Linked DNA regions of Homo sapiens: regions 2, 3, 4, 5, 6 and 7 are each linked to region 1. The links are contacts of gene promoters, found by promoter capture Hi-C in blood cells and fetal thymus (Javierre and others, 2016). All regions are on one chromosome and are shown on one strand. The core of a region is centred on a gene start or on the middle of the fragment in contact, and the rest is flanking DNA. Distances in the headings are between cores, read along the strand shown.

Region 1 (2,921 bases), core at 287-2,786:
AATGGTCCTGCATTCCAGGAAGTTATTTGTGCACCGTCAATTCCTATTTCTGGGACAGGGATATTGATGGAGAGGGCCTGCTGGGGAATCACACCGGCAGTGGCCAGAAGGATCAGAAAATAGGCAATGAATATAGAATGCAATGAGCTTCAGAGAAGCCTCACAAGTTATGGTCTCTGTGCAGAAACCTTAGAGTAAACCCAGGCCTTGTATATCCTTCAACAAATAACTATCTGTGAGGTGCTTTTTTTTTTTTTTTTTGCTGGAGTGCAGTGGCGCCATCTCGGCTCACTGCACGCTCTGCCTTCTGGGTTCATGCCATTCTCCTGCCTCAGCCTCCTGAGTAGCTGGGACTACAGGCACCCGCCACCATGCCTGGCTAATTGTTTGTATTTTTAGTAGAGACAGGGTTTCACCGTGTTGGCCAGGATGGTCTTGATCTCCTGACCTCGTGATCCGCCTGCCACGGCCTCCCAAAGTGCTGGGATTACAGGCGTGAGCCACCAGGCCCGGCCAGTGTTTTTGTTTTTGTTTTTGCGATGGAGATTCGCTCGTCACCCAGGCTGGAGTGCAATGGCACGATCTCGACTCACTGCAACCTCCGCCTCCCAGGTTCAAGCGATTCTCCTGCCTCAGCCTCCGAAGTAGCTGGGATTACAGGCATGAGCCACCACACCCGGCTAATTTTTGTATTTTTAGTAGAGACAGAGTTTTGCCATGTTGGCCAGGCTGGTCTCGAACTCCTGACCTCAAGTGATCCGCCTGCCTCAGCCTCCCAAAGTGCTGGGATTACAGGCGTGAGTCACCGCGCCCGGCGGATCTCTGAGGTTTTCTCATGGTGTAAAATAGGCACACTAGTGCCTACTTTATAGGCATTAAATGAACCCATGTTTATTAACCAGATTACCTGGCTGGGGTAAACGATGTAAATTATTGGCTTCTACCTTTACGTCAGCGTTTTCTCCATCTCTCATTTTGTCATTTAACACACTGTGCTACAATCATGTGGCAGCTTGATCATCTCCACTACACTATGCTTTATTTCTCGACAAAGCTCAGCACAAATGGCTTCTGATTTAACGGATGGACGCAGGTTCTGCACTGACTTCTGTTTCGGAACCACAGTAAGGCTGTGCAGCAGGAGCCACGAAACCCGACTCCACCTAGTGCTTTAAGACGCTACTGACCCGTCCCTTTGGCGAGGGGACAACTTCGAAGTATGACCTGGCCAGGAGGAGCCACAAAGCGCGATTAGCCTCGCTGCATTTCAGGTACAGGCCGGCGCCAGCCGTGCCTCACCAGGTCCACCGGCTCCGAGCAGCAGCAAGCCCGGTCGGAAAGCGAAAGTGGCCTCGCCATGTCCAGACCGGCCAGCTCCCCCGCCTACCTGACCCCGCCCCGCAGCCGCACCTGGGTCCGAGTCATCGCCGCGGCCGCCACGGCCCCGCACAGGAAGGCGGCAGCAAAGAGCGCAAGCTCGACGCGCTGCAGCCAGGACAGCGCCATGGCGCCCTGACCACCAGGAAGCGCCGCTGCAGCAGCACCCCGCCCAAAGCCCACCTTATCCGGCGCGACCCACGAAGGTGGAGACGTCATTTCCGGGGGCGGGATTTATTTACAAGGAACGAAGGGGCCACTGACTCAGAGCGGCAAGTACAGCGAGTAGTCCGAGAGCGCCCACCGGCGGGCGGGGCGGCTGGTACGGCCGATCATGGGCAGTTTCTGCACGTAGCGCGAGGCCGGGCTAGGCCCGTACGGCGCGGGGAAGGCAGTCTGGAAAAGGCGCCCGCGGCAGCGCCTCCCAGCCTGCCGCCCGGCTATGATGAAACGAAAGTGCGGGGCGCCGCGCGGGGCGAAACGGCTCTTCTGGAAAACGTCGCGGGTGCCGGTCCCGGGGCCCTGCTGCCGGGGTGCCCCGCGCGCCCGATGCACGCGCGGCAAGGGCCTGCTCTCAGAGGCGGCGGGCCCAGAGGCCGACGCGGGGCCGCCTCCGCCGCTGCCCCGGGGGCTCTCGTCGCCGTGCGGGCTGACTATGGCGCTTGCCGTCAGCTGCGGCATCTTCCGCACCGAGTCCGGGGCTGCCGCCGGCTCCTTCTTGTCCCCGGGCGGCCGCGGAGCCGTGGGTGCAGGCTGGCCGGTGCCAAAGCGTGTGGCCAAGCTGTCACCGAAGAAGGCGTAGAGCTCCCGGTAGATGTCGGCCAGGGTCACCGAAAGAGAAGGGTCCTCCGGCCCCGCGCCCCCTGGCGGCAGCGGGAGGCCGGACCCAAAGCTGGGTTCTGCACCGCCCCCGGAGGACGACTCTTGAAAGAGAAGGCTGTCCCATGGCAGGTCGTCCAGGCGCCGGCACCCCCTGCCACCTGGGCCACCCCTGTTGGGCTCTGCTGCCTGGGCCTTCATCTTCAGCAGTCGCTCTACCGCCACCTGTAAGAGCCAAGGACTAAGATAGGCAAAAAATTCGAGGAACCTGGGCCCATCAAATATTCCAAAGTAAGCCTGCTTGGCTGCTAAGCTCATGCAGGGAAGGGAGGCTGGAAGGGGACGGTACTCACCAGAATGGCTCCATAGACTTTGTGTCCATCTGCTTTGACCTGGGCATTAGATACTGAATAATCATCCAGCACAGCCTGCAAGTTTGTCCAGTAGGTGGACAGGTGTGGGTACAGGACTCGTTCTACTGCCTGGAAGGAAGAGAAGGAATACAGTTAGCATGTCTTTGATACTTATTCCCTCTCAAGGACCCTTTCCCATGAAAGACCTACCTTTATCTCTGATCCTAGACAGGGCTCAATCCTCCTAAATTCCCTGATTGGCATATTCAACCATATATTTATTTGGAACCTACTGTATACCTAAGCTAGGCATTGGGAATAAAGATAAGGTACAAAGGGAGACAATAAAAAATATACCCAATATCACTGCCC
Region 2 (2,921 bases), core at 197-2,696, 1.5 Mb before region 1:
AATTCGCCATGGGGGGAGGGGAGGTCATGGAGTGGGATGGGGTAAGCCCCCGCGGGGGCGCTAAGGGACAGCTGTTTCAGAAGATAGGGGAAATCAGGCCGGGAGTGGTGTCTCACACCTGTAATCCTAGCACTTCGGGAAGCCGAGGCGGGGGGGGGCGGGGGGGGTTCACCTGAGGTCAGGAGTTCGAGACCAATCTGAACAACGGGGTGAAATCCCGTCTCTACTAAAAATACAATAGCTGGGCGTGGTGGCTCGCATCTGTAGTCCCAGCTACTCAGGAGGCTGAGGCAGTAGAATCGCTTGAACCCGGGAGGCGGAGGCTGCAGTGAGCAGAGATTGCGTCACTGCACTCCAGCCTGGGCGACACAGAAAGACTCCGTCTCAAAAAAAAACAAAAAACAAAAAACACAATGCCTCGGGACTGTCCCGGGAGGTGAGGCCCCCACGATTGGCGAGAAAGGTGGGCAGCCACGAGGGCCTTCTGAAGGGATGAGCCGGGCGGGCGGAGGGGAGGGGTCTGGCAGGCAGGAAATAAAGCGATACTCTCAGACTAGCGGGACGGGGATTGCCATGGGGGTAGTGGGGGATGTCAGGCCCGGCCGGGCCAGCGGTCACCTTGATTGGGGCCATGGCTGCAGCGGCTCTGCTGAAACTGCGGACCCCGCCAGACGCCCACTCTCCTTCACTGTACCGTCTTGCTGCCGCTGCCGCAGACTGACCGCCGGCCCCACCGACGAGTATATAGCCCGCTGAGCGTCTCAGGGCGCACACGCCAGCTAGTCCCATACCCGCCCCACGGCCACTTCCACTCCGCCTCCTGGCTGGTGCCACCGCAGCAGGCGGGGCACCGCTAGCGGCACAGCGGCGACACCCTGCGGAAGGCGGGCCTGGGCCGCCTCCACTGCGCAGGCGCGAGCGGCCACCCGCAGAACAGAGCTTCCGGGACCCACGCCTCGTTTGCACTGGGTGCTGGACAGCCGACGCAACTACAAATGGGGCGGAGCTTTCGGCACTGGAGCAGCTAATTTGCATATAGGAATGAGGTGCGGCTCGGCTTCCATGGGCCTAATTTACAGATAGGGCGGTATTTCTGCCCCTTAACCGAAAGTGGGATACAGAGGACGACGGTGTTAGGCGCCTGTGTAGGAGTAAAATGTGTTTATTTTGCATTCAACGAGAGCTCCTGCATTGCAGCTATTTTGCATATGATTTGCATCTTACGAAGAATTTGTGGCAAAAAAAAGCTGGGCGTGCGCCGTAGGAACCTCCTGCTGAGACGCTTCCGGTAGCGGCGCGTGACCCGACAGGTCTTTCACCTACCTACCTCAGCTCCCACAAACACGAGAAGTTCCAGCAAGTTCGCCACTTCCGGTTCTCCTGGCTATCCAATAGCATCGAGAGGAGCATCCCCGGAAGTGAGGCAGCGGAGGACGACCTTTTTCCGGTTCCGGCCTGGCGAGAGTTTGTGCGGCGACATGAAACTGCTTACCCACAATCTGCTGAGCTCGCATGTGCGGGGGGTGGGGTCCCGTGGCTTCCCCCTGCGCCTCCAGGTACCCGCCGGCGGCAGTCTTCCCTTTTCGGGCGGGATGGTGGGCCGGGGTCCAGTGCTTGCCTAAACTCCTCCGCCCTGCAGGCCACCGAGGTCCGTATCTGCCCTGTGGAATTCAACCCCAACTTCGTGGCGCGTATGATACCTAAAGTGGAGTGGTCGGCGTTCCTGGAGGCGGCCGATAACGTGAGGATCCTTACCCCGCCCCAGCATATCCCGGGGAATGCGGGGCGGGCACACCTCAGCCGGGCTGAGGCGGGAGTTCGGGATGCCCGGAGATAATTTTGGCCTCTTGCCCACAGTTGCGTCTGATCCAGGTGCCGAAAGGGCCGGTTGAGGGATATGAGGAGAATGAGGAGTTTCTGAGGACCATGCACCACCTGCTGCTGGAGGTGAGAAGCGGCCCATCACTTGCTTCCCGGGCCACCTGCCTCCCGCACTGAGGCTGCCAGTGCTCAGCTCTGTCCCTCCCTGCCCGCAGGTGGAAGTGATAGAGGGCACCCTGCAGTGCCCGGAATCTGGACGTATGTTCCCCATCAGCCGCGGGATCCCCAACATGCTGCTGAGTGAAGAGGAAACTGAGAGTTGATTGTGCCAGGCGCCAGTTTTTCTTGTTATGACTGTGTATTTTTGTTGATCTATACCCTGTTTCCGAATTCTGCCGTGTGTATCCCCAACCCTTGACCCAATGACACCAAACACAGTGTTTTTGAGCTCGGTATTATATATTTTTTTCTCATTAAAGGTTTAAAACCAAAAGCGGTTTCTCTTTGCAGCAAATATACATTAAAATAGAGTCTCTGTACAGCCAAGGGCTCTGGGCCCTGGCTTGCCCCATGTCCCTGCGCCTCCCTGGCCAAACCCAAAAATAAATATAGTGTTATTGCTCTGCAGGGCATAGAGGCAGTGCTCTCCTACCCCCTGAGGAGGCTCGTTGGGAGCTGATGGGGAAGCCCTGGCCACCCCAGGGGTCCAGGGGCTGGAGTCTGCTTGGAGTTATTGCTTCAAGGGGGGACACTAATGCCCAATGCAAATGATGAGAGGAGGAGCGAAGGGGGCATGGGCCTTTGCTCTCCAAGTCCCACTCTGCTTTGAAGAGGGGGTAGGATTAAGCAGCAGCAAAAGCATCACCCACTGGGAGACTCTGGCCTCCATCCCCTTCCCTCCCTGAGATAGGTTTCTGCCTCCCACGCATCCCGTGCAGCCCCCTATGGCTTCCGCAAGGCCCCCTACACTCTGGGGGCACGTTATGGCTTGCAAGGGGCAGCACTGTGCCCAGAGCCTGGACACACGTTCCCAGCTTCTGACACCCCCTAGGAGGGGGAGGAGAGGGCGTGGGGCCTGTTCCCAGGGGCTGATGGCATTG
Region 3 (2,921 bases), core at 315-2,814, 1.5 Mb before region 1:
GCCAAGGATGGGGGGATGCAGAGGCCCAAGGAGAGGACTCCCTGGCCTCGGTCGTTCATGTCGTCCTGGGTGGAGGGGGAGAGCCGGCTGATACCCGTCGGGTCAGGGCAGCGGCCGCTGCGAGGGGCGCCCAATGCCCCGCTCTCCCCCTCCCCAAGCTGGGGGAGGCTCTCTCTCCTCCAATAATGCGGATGGGGAGGGCCTCTGCCTCCTGTCCTCGTAATTCTCGAAAGCTGCCCCCGCCCCACCCTCCCCCACCGCGTCCACGCTCCAGCCTCAAGGGGAGGGAGGAGGCGGACGCCAGGTCCTCAGGCCGCTGATGGGAGAGCCGGCTCAGGTCGTGGGGACCCGGGGCTCCGGCTCCCCGGCTCCCGCTGCTCCGCCCCCCTCCCCCTCCGCGCCTGCGCGGGCGCCGTTCGCTACGCAAATTGCGCAGCGGCCCGGCTGGCTCCGCAGTCCAGCGCCGCACCCGGCGTGAAACCGTACGAGAATTGGCGCGAGCTGCGCCGCTGGCGGGCGCCCGGGGTTACGGGAGGCGGCAGGAGGGCGGCCGAGTTGCGGGGGCCGTGCCGCATCCAGGGGGTCCCCGGGTGGGCCGTGCCCCGTGCCGCCCGCCTTTACTTGTATGGGGGTCCGCCAGTTCCCACGCTCCTCTCTCCTATACCCAAATCGGGGTCGTGCCGCCCGGCCGGGGGCGGCAACGGATTCCCGTCCCTCGGTCTCTGAAGAAAACTTCCGCCCATAGCCAAGATGGCCCCCGGGCCCCGCCCCCGGGCCTGAACCCGCGGAGCCCCGAATCCCCCGCGCGGGCCCGCCCCTCGCCCCGGCGCGCCCGCGGCCCTGCTCACCTGGCCGGCCGCCTGCCAGGCGTGAAGCCCCCACGGGCCCTACGGTCCTCCCTCACCGGGTCCCCGGCCCTCCTCCCGCGCCCGGGCAGCCATCCCAGCCAGGGAGGAGGTTCCTTTCCTTATCTCCAGTGCCCCCGAGATGGCGCGGGAGGTGTCCCCCGAGGCGGGCGGCGCGAAGCTTCCGCGCCTGGGAGGAGGAGCGGGGAGCGGGACTTTCCGACCGGGCACCCAGTCCAGGCGGAGCGGTAACAATAGCAACAATAATCACATCCGACGGCTGAGCTTCAGTTGTGGCTGTGCCAAGCGCCTTCGCCCGCAGTAATCACTCCCTTCACAAAGTTTTCACTGGCTCCCGGGGGAGCTGTCACTATCCCCACTTCACTGGGGGGAAACTAAGGCCCAGAGGGGCTGAAGGACTTGTTGGCAGAAGTGGGTCTCCAGGTTCCAAATGGGGACCCCAGAGAATCCCTCTCCTGCTCCCACACACGCCCAAGGTGTGAGGCAGCGAGGATGTGAGCCCCGGGGCCGAAGGAGGGAGGAAAAAGGATGCGGACGAGGAGCCTTGGATCCGGCGGGGGGGCGGGGCCGGGCCGGGTTGACCCCGCCTCTGGACCTACCCGAGTGACGTTCCGAGAGGTGATTGGGCCAGGTCGCTGACAGTTCCCGTTGCCCAAGCAACTAGGGCCCGGAGCCCGGGGTGCTGGAGGGAGGCGGCAGGCCCGGGTCAGGGGCCTCGAGATCGGGCTTGGGGTGAGACCTGTGCGCCGTCACCACGGGCGGGGCGGGGCCTGGGTCCACCGGGGTTCTGAGGGGAGACTGAGGTCCTGAGCCGACAGCCTCAGCTCCCTGCCAGGCCAGACCCGGCAGACAGATGAGGGCCCAGGAGGCCTGGCGGGCCTGGGGGCGCTACGGTGGGAGAGGAAGCCAGGGGTACCTGCCTCTGCCTTCCAGGGCCACCGTTGGCCCCAGCTGTGCCTTGACTACGTAACATCTTGTCCTCACAGCCCAGAGCATGTTCCAGATCCCAGAGTTTGAGCCGAGTGAGCAGGAAGACTCCAGCTCTGCAGAGAGGGGCCTGGGCCCCAGCCCCGCAGGGGACGGGCCCTCAGGCTCCGGCAAGCATCATCGCCAGGCCCCAGGCCTCCTGTGGGACGCCAGTCACCAGCAGGAGCAGCCAACCAGCAGCAGCCATCATGGAGGTAAGTACCCCACCACCTCCACCTGCCGGGACACCTCACCCCCAGCCCACTGGCTCCCTGCATCCCAGTTGCATCCACAGGCACTGAATGCTTTGGGTCGGTCCCCAAACTCTCAGAGCCCCAGTTTCCTCTTTCGTAAAACAGCAATTAATAACCACCATTGTAGGACTGTTGAGTTAATTAGCAGGAACATATAGGATGCACTTGATTACAGAGCTGGTGCACATTAAAGCTAAAAAATGGTTGCTGCCGGGCGTGGTGGCTCACACCTGTAATCTCAGCACTTTGGGAGGCCAAGGCAGGAGGATCGCTTGAGCCCAGAAGTTCAAGGCCAGCCTGAGTGACTTAGGGAGACTCCAGCTCTTAAAATACATATATATATATATAGCAGCTATTAGTGTGGGGTTAGGACAGAAATCAGTGACAGGCAGGCAGTGATCCGAAAAGGAAAAGGGGCCTGCCTAAGGCCACACCTTCCTGGTGTTTCTTTCCTTAGAATGTGGGGGCTGGAAGCCTCCTTGGTGCCCTGCCCCAGGCTACATGCTTTCCCTGGGATTAGGCCTTCCAGCTCCCAGATGTGTTCTTTCTTGCCCTGTGGCTCGTACCCACAGCAGGACTGTCCTGGCACAGTGGCCAGGGGCAGATGACCTCAAGGGGCAGACAGTCCTCCCAGACAGCAGGGCTGTGTGGGGTGAGAAGCACAGGCTCCAAGATGGAAGGATGGACACTGGGGTTCTATGTCCATTTCTCAGTAGGCTCTAGCACCCCTGTGCCCAGCACTGGCCTTGGCACCTGGAACAACAACAGATATCTTCTGAACACAAAAACCAGGTCAAGCTGGGTGGGGTGGCACATGTCTGTAGTCCCAGCAACT
Region 4 (2,921 bases), core at 159-2,658, 1.5 Mb before region 1:
GCGGGGAGTCTATGGGTACTGCCCCTAGTGTTTCCCTCCCACCTCTCCCCAGGGGTCTGGACCTCAAAGGCAGCCCAGGTCCCCTGCTCTCCTGCCCCAAGCCTCCGTCAGCACCCCCCACCCCACCCCCAGGGCCCTCTCCCTGTTCCCACTTCCTTATTTGGGTTTATCACAGTGGAATGAAAAGAAGAAACTTTTCCCTTCAGGCCAGCCTGGGGGGAGGGGTCTCCCCCGGCCCCTGGGGCCCCCAGGCACCCCACCTCGCACACCTGCCGCTTCAGGCCACGCCCCCATCTCCTCCCCCCAGCTCCCACGCCTACCCCGGGGCCCCACCCAGCCGGAAAAGAGCCCAGAGTCTTCCAGGCCCGTGGCCTGACTGGGAAGGAGCTGCGAGGAAGCTCAGGCCGGCCGGGTGGAGGCCCTAGGGAAGGAAGGGCCCAGGGGGCAGAAGAGGATGCACCCAGGATGGGGATGGGCAGCCGAAGGTGGGGACACAGGCATTTGGGAAGCACCAGGGGCAGGACAGGGAAAGGGGGGCCAGGATGTATTGGGGTTCAAGGTCCCAAGCCTAAGGAGTGGGGAGCAAAGTTCCCAGGGGTGGAGGAACTTGGGGGGCAAAGTCTCCACTAGGGGGTGACTGGGTGCTCCCATCTGAACAGGGAGCTGGGCTGGGATCCAGAAGCAGGGCGAAGGGGTGCCAACCAGAACAGGGGGAAAAATGATGAATGGACGAGGACTGTTCAGGCAGGGCACCGGGGAGAGTAGGGGCGCCCTGGCACACACCCAGAATGAGGATGCCCCCAGCCAGCCTGGAAGTCAGGGTCCTGCAGCCGGGGAGTCTAGTGCTGGGCAGGGGTCTGGGCACCAGGCCAGGATCGGGGAACGAGAATTAGTCTGGCAGGGAGCGGTGGGAAGAACGAATGGAAAACGGGGGGACGGGGTTTATTGGGGTTCAAAGTCTCTGCGCCAAGGAGTGGAGGCAAATTTTCCAGAGCTGAGGGACTGGGAGTTGGGGGGACAAAGTCTTCATTACGGAGACGATCGGGGACTTAAGTTTCCGGGGCGCCGCCAGACTGGGATGAGGGTGGCGCCACGGGCAGGCGAGGCTGGGGTGGGGGTCCCCAGCGTCTGGTCGAGCTTGACTGAAAGAGTCCCGGGATTTGGGCGGAGCAGGGGCCCGCGCGCTTACCTCGTCCCATTTGATGAACTTACTCCCGCGCCGCAGGGTCTCCACCACGGTGGGCGGCTCCAACTGCAGCGCGTGGACGCCGGGCTGGGCGCCCGCCATGGCCCGGCCAGGGGCGGGTCGGGGACCCACGGAGCCCTGACGGGGACCGACGGCGCCGCTGCTCCCACCGCGCGGCCCGCTCCGGCCCCGCGGCGTCAGTGCCCGCCCGCCCGCCAGTCTGTCCCGGACCGACCAGAGCCTCGGCGGGGCCCGGGCGGGGCGGGGACGGGGCGGGGCCTCCCGGGCCCCGCCCCCTCCCACCGCGTCGGCTCCCCCTGGCGGCCGGGGCGGCGACTGCAGCCGGAGCGGGGATTGGGGCAGGGGCACGCGGACGGGTCGGGGGCTTTGCTGCGGGGCTCAGCAGAACCTGATTCTTCAGGCCTGTGGTGGAAGGAGGGCGCTGGGGGCCGAAGTGGCTGTTGGGGAGCAGCTGGAGGGACTGGGTGTAGAGGGCGCTGCTTAAGGCGGTCCGGGATCAGCCCACTGAGGTTTCCGAGCGACTAGGGCTGCAGTACCAGCGGAGGGCTAGACTTGGGCCGGGGGGTCGCTGCACAGCCCTGTCGCCCACCCTCTTCTGCCGCACTTAGCTGAATGCAGGAAAAGCTTCTTCCGCCCCCCTCTGCCCTGGCTTCGCCTCACCCACTCTTATGCCGCGCGGTCCCCCCTCCCTGGGAGCACTTAGCCGGCTAATGGACCTCCCGCCGGCAGGCACCCCTCCCCCGTCCCTAGCCCAGGGAGGCCGGGCGCCTGCCACCTCCTTTAAGGACCCAAGCATCCTGGTCTTCGAGAGTGAGCCCTAGAACAGCCCCCTTCTTGTTGCTGCAGACTCCCATGACTGGAACCTGACTGTGAGCCTCTTGGCTGGGAACCGCGGGGGGAACGCTGTTGTCTGCCCAGAGGGGTCAGAAGCTTTGTGGATGTCCCCAGACAGGAGGGTTGAGGAGGGGCTCTGCAGTGCCTGGCCCACAGCAGGTGCCCTGAAATCTGCGTTCCAGAGATGGGAGCGGGGAAGGCGCATGGGCAATGGGATGGGTGGGGGCTGCAGCCCCTCCCGCAGGGCTTAGCTGGTGGGGGGGGTTCCTGCCTGGGGGCCCCTGTGGGAGCCCCCCCAATACAGAGGCAGTAACAGCAGCAGGTTTAAAGTAGAACTCATCCAGAGGGGCCAGCCAAGTCACCTAGAAACCCAGAAAGAGATGCAGCTGGCTCTGGGGGAGGAGGGGTCAGCAAAGGAGGAGCTCCCCTGCAGGCCCCTTTGCCCCAGGCTCTGAGACCTCCACAAGGAGCCCTGCCTGGCCCTGGCCTTCCTCCACACCCCGCCAAGTTCTCCATCAACTCTAACCTGGCGGATCTCCTCGCTCTCAGCCCTGGCCCTGTGGGGTGTGATTATGATCTCCACTTGAGGCCCAGAGAGGGGAAGGGACTTGCCCAAGGTCACACAGCTTCTTAGGAGGATTTCAACCCTCCGACTTCCTGAGGCCCAGGAGCCTCTAGACCTCATTGGGAAAACAGAACCATGCAAGGTGGAGCTTGGCCTCTGCCCTCACAGGCTGGAGTTCAAATCCGGCTCTTGCTAGCAGCCTCTTGCTAGTGGCAGAACCTAGTCTCTCTAGGTGCCTCAGTCACCTTGTCCAGAACCTAAAGGTTGTTGTATACATAAGCAAATGGGTGGGAGATGCCAAATTGACATGAGTAG
Region 5 (2,921 bases), core at 422-2,921, 1.4 Mb before region 1:
GAAGAATCCAAGGCAGAGGGTACTGAGGGCTAGAATTCCACTCCAAGTATGTATAGCTGCAAAGCCAACTTCTTCCCTCATTGCTGGCCAGATGCCTGCAGGCCTCCTGCCAGCCCAGACCTGTAGAATTCTGGCAAGTCCTACCCCCTCCCTTCATGTCTACCACCCTGTCCAGGTCAACCTCACTCACCTCATCACAGATCTCCTGAAGGACACTGGAAAAGAGTTCATGTACCACCAGCTGCCCAGCGAGGTCCTGGTGCTGGGGGCTGCCACCAGGGCACAGGGCCTGTGAGAGGTCAGGCTCAGCCCCTGCTCCCCACCTCTTCCCCCTGCCCCATCTCAGGACCAGCAAGCCTATACCTGCTGGCCTTGAGGGTCTGATGTGGCACAGTGTAAGAGAGTTAGTGATCCTGAGTCTGGTGTCCTTTCCCTGACAGACAACCAGAGGTCCAGCTTCAAAGGAGATACACAGGGGGCAGGGGTGGAGTAGGGCATCTTCTTCCTGTGCCCAATCTTTCCTCCCGTGTTTTCTAGTTTCTCACAGGACTGGGGCAGGGGTCAGTGGGGAGGCAGGTGGACTGCCCTGAGCAAACTTCCAGAGAAATACCAGGCCAATTTTCCCTTTAAGGAATGAGGAAACCAAAGCTGGGAGGATTGGGAGGGTGGAGAGCTGCAGCTCCCTTGAGCTGTCTGGGTCTTTGTGCCCAGCCTGGAATCTCACCTGAGGCTCAGGGTGCCCACCAGGTACGTCCACCAGCCCAGGGGCCTCAGCCACCTGCCGGGAGCGGCGCAGGAAGACAAGGAAGTCATCGGCTGTGGCTAGTGCAGCGCCCACCCCCAGTGGGTCCGCCAGATAGGCCTGCGTGTCACCCCAGTCGGTGGCACCCTGCTGTCGCAGCCAGGCAGCTGAGCTGGACCAGTTGGTGCCCAGGAAGTCTCGGTAGGAAGTAAGGCCCAGGCGCAGGAGCAGCTGTGGCCCCCGAGAGCCAATAGGCGCCAGGGTGGCTGAGTGCAGGCGGAACTTGGGGGCGTCGAAGAGCCAGGGTTGGGCCTTTAGCCGGGTCTCCCAGATGGCAGTGATGGCCTCGTCCCCACCTGGCAGTGGGCGACGGTCATGGGCGGGGCTCAGCTCGGCCTGTATCTGCTCCTGGGGCAGGCCCCCGCCAGGGCACTGCAGCAGCAAGGTCACCTCAGGATCCATGGTCTGAACGGGGCAGCTCTGGGGGAGGATACGGCCAGGCCTGTCATCCAGGGGGGCCACTACCACTCCTGGGCTGCGCAGCTAGCCCCCTCTGTCGCAGACCTCCTGAGGGTATCCGCAGCGCTTCTCCACCCCCCTGACCACTCCTTGGGCAGTAAAACGTGCCATCTTCCCCGCAGGAGCCCCGAGTCCCGCAGGGTATCCAGGACGCCCGGGCATCCCTACCATCCAGAGGTCTTGGGTTCAGGCGCCCCAAATGCCCATGTCCCCCAAACCCAGGGGTCTGCCTCCGACCCGGGGCGCGCGGGGACCCCTTTCCAGGGCCCGGAAGCTCCAGCCTCCAGCGGGCGCTCACCAGCCGCCGGGTCCCTCAGGCTCCGCCCCTTCCCCGAAGCGGAAGTGCCCGCCCCCTTTCCACGCGGCTTTTCATTGGCGGGTCCGCCGCGGTCGAGGATCCTGGAGGTTTGTCCCCGCCGCCCCGACGCTTCCGCCCGGTCCGTCGGCACGTCGGCCCTGCCTCCCGGACCACCCTGCGGGGCGCACCAGCGATCTGGGGTGCGGGGCTCGGCCTCCCTGCGCTCCTGGCTGACCGTGTGACCTTGGGCAAGTCTGGCCTGCTGGGCCTTAGTTTCCCTCTCTGCAGCAGGGACTTGGGGGTGGTGAACTTAATGAGCCGTATACTCCCACCCAGCGCTCACTTCCTGAGGCTTTGTGACTTTCTGGGAGGGATGGGGACGTGGAAGGGGCCTTAAAGCAGTCCCCCCTCGTCACTGCCCCCCACAGGTCTTAACCATGAACTTCTCTGGAGGAGGGAGGCAGGAAGCAGCAGGGTCCAGGGGTAGAAGGGCTCCCAGACCCCGAGAACAGGTGCGCGCCTCCTCCCCACCCCCTCCCACCAGTCCAGGCTCCCTGGGAGTTGCTGGGGGGCGGAGCTGAAGGGTCCTACTATTCCTGGAGACCACTGGCACTCCTTTCTCTCTGGGCTCTCTCTGCAGTGGGTCATTGAGGGTTCAGGATGGGCAGTAGGGCAGGGTCACCATGGAGACTAGGGGCCACCGCTGGGTTCTTTCAGGACCGAGACGTGCAGCTGTCCAAGGCTCTGTCCTATGCCCTGCGCCATGGGGCCTTGAAGCTGGGGCTTCCCATGGGAGCTGGTAAGTAGGGGCCTTGGAGGCTGGGGCTTGAGCCCAGAGAGAAACGTGAGCCTGTCTGCGACTCCTCCCTGATGGCTGCCTCCACCGCTCCCTGAGGAAGGCACAGAGTGCACTTCCTCCCCATGCACAGAGGAGAGCAAGGCCTAGAGCCCCTGTCATGTCCACAGCAGACTGAGGAGAGTTCTTGTCTGGGCCAGGCCTGGTGACCGCCCCCTCCAGCCAAGCAGCCAGATCAGCACTTACCCCGAGGGCGAGCCCTGGAGGATACGGTGCAGCTGGTGGTGTGAGTGTGCACTCCGGGCCAGCGCTATGCTGGGCACTCACCTCCCTGCCCCTCCGTGAGGCAGATCCTCTTTTTATGTAAGTTGAAAAAACTGCGGCCCAGAAAGGGGAGACTTTCTAAAGGTCCCACAGAGGATGCCCAAGCGATCTCCAAGCCCAGACTTTGTTTCGGTTGCCTGTGGCTCCCTGTTAACCCTGGCCCAGTCCAGAGCAAGGTTAGCTCCTGAGCACCCTGCCTGCCCACAGATGGCTTCGTGCCCCTGGGCACCCTCCTGCAGTTG
Region 6 (2,921 bases), core at 179-2,678, 1.4 Mb after region 1:
CCACCTCAGCTGGTGAAGTCCCACCTTATTGGACATATGTTCGCGGTTTCCTCATTCATTAAATTTTAGAGAGAGAGAGAGTGTCTCGCTCTGTCGCCAGGCTGGAGTGCAGTGGCATGATCTTGGCTCACTGCAACCTCCGCCTCTCGGGTTCAAGCGATTCTCCTGCCTCAGCCTCCCAAGTAGCTGGGACTACAGGTGCGTGCCACCACGCCTGGCTAATTTTTTGTATTTTTAGTAGAGACGGGGTTTCACCATGTTAGCCAGGATGGTCTCGATCTCCTGACCTCGTGATCCTCCCGCCTCGGCCTCCCAAAGTGCTGGGATTACAGGCGTGAGCCACTGCGCCCGGCCGCATTAAATAACACTGATAGCTACTACCTAGGTACTCACACCACGATAAACTTGTCAACCAAGATCGTTTCCTTTAATCCTCCCTACAAGTCTGCAAGGTGGGAATTATTCCTATTCTACAGGAAAGGACACAGAAGTCAGAGCTCAAGGCATTCCTCCAGGTCTCAAGTCAGCAGAACCCGGCTTCATAACTGTGACGCCAAACCCGTGCTCTTAACCACTACTCATAGGCCACCATCCAGGGCTGTTTTGAGGATCCGTTATGCAGAAACGCCCATGCCTGTCTCTACGTACGACGATCCCCTCCAGTTTAGGGCAGTGGAGACTCACAAGCTCATGAAGCTCTTTAATTCGTCCACCGCTACCTGCCGCCTTCCCTTTGTACCTAGGGCAGTATTCCTCACGCTTCCCAATCCACTTAAAAACGAGGCTTCCTTGGCAAACAACAACAAAGCATAAAACCCAAGCCCAAAACAACAGCACCAAAAATTCTGACTTCTGGTCACTTAACCCACTCCTCGTCAATCACTCTCACCTCCAAACTCCAACGTCGGTTGTCATGCGGACATCGTCCCGGCTTCCGGAAGCCGGCTTTAAATTCCGGAAGTAAATGGAGGAGGCGGGCCCCGTCTGCGCCGTGCGGCCTGCTAGTCCCCGGCTTTCTCTTCCCGCTCTATGGCCAGTCTGGCCGCCATGTTGGAGCTTTCGCTGTTCGGGGCCCGGCCTGCTCCGGGCCCTCCCAGCGTCGCCGCTAGCTGACTTAGGGCTCCCGCCCACACTGCGCACGGCCTTGCTGAGGGCCGGCTCGTAGTGGGAGGCTTCGCGTTCACCTGAACATTTCCGCCTCCTCTGGATGGGGGATGAGAGGCGGGGCTGATGCATCGCAGCAGTCCTGGACCCTGACTTCGGACTTGGAGAAGAAACGCCGAGGAGGAACGGGAGTTAGGGGGTTAGCAGCTTGGCGCGCTGGGAGCCGGCCACCCCTGGTCTCCGGACTTCACTTCCCAGGAGGCCTCGCGCGCGACTGGAAGTGCTGCGAGCCTATAAGAAGGCGAGGCGGCACCCGCCGCTCTGCTCTGGGGCGGCATTGCCAGCCGGCTGTAGGCATTCAGGGCAGTGTCTTCTGCATCTCCTAGGAACCTCGGGAGCGGCAGCTCCGGCGCCTGGTAGCGAGAGGCGGGTTCCGGAGATCCCGGCCTCACTTCGTCCCACTGTGGTTAGGGGTGAGAAGGATCCCGGGGCTGGGAGTTCAGGGACCTGGGTTCGAATGCTGGTTCCGCTGCTATCTCGCTTCGCACTGTCGCGATCCCCTTGCTCGGCCTCAATTTTCTCTTTTAGAAAGTGGGCACCTTTCTCCGCGCTCTTCCTTCCAACGCGGTGGTTATAAAGGCACGAAAGCTCTTCAGAGGACGCAGAAAGCACCTGGAGCTCCTCACCCCAATTTTCACCCATTGTTAGCTGGCACGAGCACCCAGCAGAGGAGTCAGGGATCACCCCTCGGGTGCCTGGAACGGTTCTTTGGACACCTGAGCCGGACCTAGGCACAGCCTGAAGTCGGGGTCTATAATTATTCCGGTGCTAAGGGGTAACTTGTTCACCTACCTCCTTGGCAGGAATATTGAGCCCTTCACTCCTCATGTTCCGACTTTAACAGAAGCTACCTTTGAGAATAAGGAATCCTCAGAGCTGAGAGGGAGTGGACCCGAATTCCTGTACCAGCTCGGCCACTTACCTTGGCTAAGTCATTTTCTTGTTTTGGGCCCCAGTGTCACAGTGTTTTTGATTTGTAAGATGAGGGTTTAGGGCTTGTATCCTAAATCTGGTCCTCAAGATTCTTGAAGTCCCCCAGTCCATCGGGGAGGGAGAGCAACAAACTGATTTTCTACCCCTTCATTTATTTGTAGTTCTAAATTATAAAAGTAACACTGCAAGAGTTTGGAGTAGAGCCTTTTTCTTTTTCTTTCTTTTTTTTTTTTCTGAGACAGAGTCTCACTCTGTCGCCCAGGCTGGAATGCAGTGGCACGATCTCGGCTCACTGCAACCTCCGCCTCCCGGGTTCAAGCGATTCCCCTGCCTCAGCCTCCCAAGTAGCTGGGATTACAGGCGCCCGCTACCGCGCCCGGCTAATTTTTGTATTTTTAGTAGAGACGGGGTTTCTCCATGTTGGTCAGGCTGGTCTCGAACTCCTGACCTCATGTGATCCGCCCGCCTCGGCTTCCCAAAGTGCTGGGATTACAGGCGTGAGCTACCGCGCCCAGCCTGCGTAGAGCCTTTTTCTAAGACTAAGGGCTGGATGGGAACTAGCATTTCTTACCCCTGGATGTGACCTGTTTTAGCTCAGCCGGGAGAATCCTTTTTCGCAAGAAGTTAATAATATCTTGTGACGTGAAAATTATGTGAAACTCAGACTTCAGTGTCCATAAATAAATATTACTGGAACACAGCCGTGGTGCTCATTTGTTAAGATGTTTATGTGGCTGCTCTTGCATGGGCAGAGTTGATGACATAGTTGTGACAGACCATGTGCTCTACAAAGCCTAGAATATTTACTACCTGGACCTTTACAG
Region 7 (2,921 bases), core at 115-2,614, 1.4 Mb before region 1:
ATCGGGGTCTTCCTGCTGCTCTCTCAGGAAGGGGTAGCCCCCACCCCCGGCAGGGAAGGAAGATGAGGAGCCCCCGTGTCACTAGCCCCGTGGTCCTCCATGACTGATACCACAGCTGCTCTGCTGTAACTTCCTGTGGGGGCAGGGCCTTCCCACCCAGGCTGGGCCTGTCACCAACCTGCTCAAAGCTTCCGCCAAGGGGAGGGAGCGTGGGGGCAGGCCCCTGGGTCACCTAGACCCCCTCAGACCTCAGCAATGTGACTTCAGCCTCGGCCCAGACAAGACCACTCCTTCTGCCCCTATTGGTGGCTGAATGGAGGATTGTGGCTGCGTCTGATCCTTAGCAGACCAGCTGCAGCAGAAGGGAGGGAGGGAAGAGGGTGGGAGGGAGAGGAAGTTGGGGAAATGTCTTTTTTGGAACCAAATGATTAAGCTAATGCCTGAGTCACCGTGACACCATTATCGGGAGCTGAGCAGCAGGGATGGCCCGGAAGTGCCCAGAGACACCCGTGGCGGCCGCCCATGGTGCCGAGTTCAGCAAGCGGGCAGCGGACACTCACTGATCTGCTCCACAATCTTCAGGAGCACCCCGCCGATGTGCGACTCCCCAGTGACCCGCAGGGTGACCGACTCGGCCTCTGGGTCCTCCTCTCCCACAAACACCCGCAGCTCCCATGACGAGTCGATGTAGTCCCCGGAGGCTGTCTTCATCCCCGCCATGGCTGCGGCTGCTGCTACAGAGAGTGTGGAAGGAGGCAAGGTGGGCAGGCCCTGGTAGGCCTCCGGGTTTGGGCAGAAGAGCTCTGTGATGCCCTGGACACACCCAGAGGAAAGCCGCTCATGAAGGAGGGCGGGAGTGAGCACCCAGGCCAGCACGCCCGTGGTACCCTCAGACTCTCTCTCCAGCGCTGGCGCTTGAGCCGCGAGGGCCCTCAGAGACCATGTAGTCCAATCCGCTCCCATCCTACAGGCGGGCAGACTGAGGCCGGGTAAGAAGGGGCTCACTCAGGACCACCGTGCTCAATGCCAGCCCACAGCTCACTCCCAGACCCTCAGGGGCAGCTGCCCACTCTGGCCATGGCTTCGTACCCAGGCCAGGAAGTAGTTCCGATCCTGGCCCACAGCTCAGATGCCAACATCACAAACCAGCCAAAGCCTCTCCGGGGAGGTGGAAAGTTCAGGCTGCCGCATGGCGAGAGGCAGGCTGGGCAGAGGCTGCAGGAGGATAAGGAAGAGAAGGGCCCAGGGTCCCAGTGAGGCCTGAGCTTACCTTTCCTGGCAAGGGCTGGGGGCTGCAGGTGGGTCTCGGGCTACACCCCTGTGGGCCGTGGGCTTCCTGCCCTCCTTTCTCTTTGGAGCTTCCTTCAGGGCAGCCCTTGCTTGTGCCTTATCACGAGCAGGGCGGGTTCAGCCCCTCCCCAGGGCGGGCTGGCGCTGGGTGCAGGAAGCACACTGCCAGCCCACAGAGGGTTCCAGGGGCCCCCCCACCTTTGTCCCCAGAGAGCACAGGAAGCTAGGGAGAGCGGGGCTTAGCGACTCAACACCATAAAAACGCCCCCTTCCTCATTTGGAGGGAAGCTCAGTGCAAACTCAACAAGTCCCCCGGCTGTGTGTGTTCAGGGCTAGGTCCACTTTTGTGGGAAGTGTCTGCCATCCTCAGCCTGTCACATGAGGTGGGGACCTTGGGCTTTGAAACATCACTGGGCTGCCGGAGGGAGAGCCCAGGAGTCGACAGAGTGTATCCAGGTTATTTGGGACTCACAGGTTAAATCGGCTCCAGCCTGGCTATCCCTATCAACCAAGGATCCCTCAAGGCCCCAGAGGGAAACAAGTCCATTTTGCAGTTTTTCCTAGCTCCGCGTAGGGCTACCTTCAAACTCATGAACTCAGACCTGCCAGGTGAACAAGTGAACAGTACTTGGCCCAGACCATCCACAACCTCCCGGGCCCTCAGGTCACCCAGCTCCAAACACGACCCCTCCACTGTGCTCCACTTGGATGAGCCTCCCCGAGTCCCCACGAGGCTCACTCCCATCAAGTCCCTGCTTAGGTGACACCTCAGGGGTCTCTGGTGGTCTATACCCTCCTGCTCATCACCTGCCCTAGGATGTGGACTTCAGTAGAGCAAGGCACGTCCGCCACCAGCTCTGCGCAGGACAGCGGCCTTTCCAGTGAACACACTGGGGTTGGAGCATGCAGGGTGGGCAAGCCTGGGGGCGGCAGAGTCCTGCCAATGGGGGAGGCTACCTGAGCATCGCCACTCAGATGGGGAAGGGGGCGGCCTGCCGGGGATTCCCAGGGGAAAAGAAAGCTGATGAAACTAACAGCAGGAAGTCCAGCCAGCTGCTAGTCTCAGCGCCTTCCTAGCCCAGAAAGCAGCACTCTTGGAGCAAATGAGGAAGTTTTACTCCTGCCCCAAAGGCCTCCCCAGTCCAGGAAGAGAGCTTTAGAAAACGCAGCTTGTTGCAACCATGGAAAAGTGTAATTAAAGCTTAGCACCCTAAGTTCTCAGGTAAGAGCCGTGCATTAAAACCATCACCCAGGCCGGGCGCGGTGGCTCACGCCTGTTAACCCCAGCACTTTGGGAAGTCCAGGCGGGTGGATCACGAGGTCAGGAGATTGAGACCATCCTGGCTAACACGGTGAAACCCCGTCTCTACTAAAAATACAAACAAACAAACAAACAAAAAATTAGCCGGGCGTGGTGGCGGGCGCCTGTAGTCCCAGCTACTCGGGAGACTGAGGCAGGAGAATGGCGTGAACCCGGGAGGCAGAGCTTGCAGTGAGCTGGATCACGCCACTGCACTCCAGCCTGGGCGACAGAGAGAGACACCATCTCAAAAAATACAAACAAAAAAAACCCATCACCCAGTGGGGTGCAGTGGCTCATGCCTGTAATCCCAGCACTTTGGGAGGTTGAG

The links. The method cuts DNA at HindIII sites, captures the fragments that hold promoters and counts their contacts. A CHiCAGO score of 5 or more calls a contact.
Region 2: the fragment with the promoter of TRMT112 here is called in contact with the fragment with the promoter of TMEM179B in region 1 in 2 of 17 cell types (non-activated CD4 T cells and naive CD4 T cells); the score reaches 8.7 in non-activated CD4 T cells.
Region 3: a contact is called between the fragment with the promoter of BAD here and the fragment with the promoter of TMEM179B in region 1, in 14 of 17 cell types (total B cells, total CD4 T cells, erythroblasts and 11 more). The highest score is 15.8, in total B cells.
Region 4: a contact is called between the fragment with the promoter of PLCB3 here and the fragment with the promoter of TMEM179B in region 1, in 5 of 17 cell types (activated CD4 T cells, naive CD4 T cells, M0 macrophages and 2 more). The highest score is 11.4, in activated CD4 T cells.
Region 5: a contact is called between the fragment with the promoter of TRPT1 here and the fragment with the promoter of TMEM179B in region 1, in 1 of 17 cell types (non-activated CD4 T cells). The highest score is 6.4, in non-activated CD4 T cells.
Region 6: a contact is called between the fragment with the promoter of CYB561A3 here and the fragment with the promoter of TMEM179B in region 1, in 3 of 17 cell types (neutrophils, megakaryocytes and erythroblasts). The highest score is 17.9, in neutrophils.
Region 7: the fragment with the promoter of FERMT3 here is called in contact with the fragment with the promoter of TMEM179B in region 1 in 4 of 17 cell types (fetal thymus, erythroblasts, total CD8 T cells and 1 more); the score reaches 12.2 in fetal thymus.

What each region holds. Positions count from the first base shown.
Region 1 is chr11:62,786,017-62,788,937 of GRCh38, reverse strand. TMEM179B (transmembrane protein 179B) reads right to left here and starts at 1,536. Exons shown (of 5, transcript NM_199337.3): 1 at 1,411-1,536. The coding sequence starts at 1,506. TAF6L (TATA-box binding protein associated factor 6 like) reads right to left here. Exons shown (of 11, transcript NM_006473.4): 10 at 2,550-2,678; 11 at 1,596-2,421. The coding sequence ends at 1,642. It also overlaps a transcript of TMEM223 not described here. RefSeq lists a silencer at 1,906-2,015 and an enhancer at 2,266-2,465. The HindIII fragment of the contact is 7,473 bases long and covers 1-2,921 here.
Region 2 is chr11:64,316,084-64,319,004 of GRCh38, reverse strand. TRMT112 (tRNA methyltransferase activator subunit 11-2) reads left to right here and starts at 1,446. Exons shown (of 4, transcript NM_016404.3): 1 at 1,446-1,556; 2 at 1,640-1,741; 3 at 1,858-1,947; 4 at 2,037-2,545. The coding sequence starts at 1,479. The coding sequence ends at 2,144. ESRRA (estrogen related receptor alpha) reads right to left here. Exons shown (of 7, transcript NM_004451.5): 7 at 2,262-2,921. It overlaps PRDX5 (peroxiredoxin 5), which reads right to left and starts at 884. Exons shown (of 6, transcript NM_012094.5): 1 at 619-884. The coding sequence starts at 789. RefSeq lists a silencer at 820-979 and enhancers at 1,070-1,269, 2,427-2,921. The HindIII fragment of the contact is 12,949 bases long and covers 1-2,921 here.
Region 3 is chr11:64,283,308-64,286,228 of GRCh38, reverse strand. BAD (BCL2 associated agonist of cell death) reads left to right here and starts at 1,564. Exons shown (of 4, transcript NM_032989.3): 1 at 1,564-1,598; 2 at 1,853-2,047. The coding sequence starts at 1,861. GPR137 (G protein-coupled receptor 137) reads right to left here and starts at 381. Exons shown (of 7, transcript NM_001170880.2): 1 at 1-381. RefSeq lists silencers at 305-1,044, 1,395-1,684. The HindIII fragment of the contact is 5,985 bases long and covers 1,029-2,921 here.
Region 4 is chr11:64,250,017-64,252,937 of GRCh38, reverse strand. PLCB3 (phospholipase C beta 3) reads right to left here and starts at 1,408. Exons shown (of 31, transcript NM_000932.5): 1 at 1,190-1,408. The coding sequence starts at 1,288. RefSeq lists silencers at 426-639, 1,127-1,596 and enhancers at 29-675, 676-1,321, 2,616-2,921. The HindIII fragment of the contact is 12,307 bases long and covers 1-1,833 here.
Region 5 is chr11:64,224,936-64,227,856 of GRCh38, reverse strand. TRPT1 (tRNA phosphotransferase 1) reads left to right here and starts at 1,671. Exons shown (of 8, transcript NM_001033678.4): 1 at 1,671-1,807; 2 at 1,988-2,071; 3 at 2,277-2,358; 4 at 2,887-2,921. The coding sequence starts at 1,997. It overlaps NUDT22 (nudix hydrolase 22), which reads right to left and starts at 1,583. Exons shown (of 6, transcript NM_032344.4): 1 at 1,430-1,583; 2 at 725-1,222; 3 at 191-289. The coding sequence starts at 1,204. RefSeq lists enhancers at 405-922, 923-1,442, 2,043-2,765 and a silencer at 1,468-1,877. The HindIII fragment of the contact is 9,418 bases long and covers 1-2,921 here.
Region 6 is chr11:61,360,389-61,363,309 of GRCh38, reverse strand. It overlaps CYB561A3 (cytochrome b561 family member A3), which reads left to right and starts at 1,428. Exons shown (of 7, transcript NM_153611.6): 1 at 1,428-1,577. TMEM138 (transmembrane protein 138) reads right to left here and starts at 936. Exons shown (of 5, transcript NM_016464.5): 1 at 890-936. RefSeq lists enhancers at 918-1,407, 818-1,539, 1,658-1,877. The HindIII fragment of the contact is 4,335 bases long and covers 1-2,921 here.
Region 7 is chr11:64,205,164-64,208,084 of GRCh38, reverse strand. It overlaps FERMT3 (FERM domain containing kindlin 3), which reads right to left and starts at 1,364. Exons shown (of 15, transcript NM_031471.6): 1 at 1,271-1,364; 2 at 561-734. The coding sequence starts at 720. RefSeq lists enhancers at 716-795, 1,116-1,195, 1,630-2,192, 2,096-2,355, 2,193-2,755. The HindIII fragment of the contact is 2,303 bases long and covers 191-2,493 here.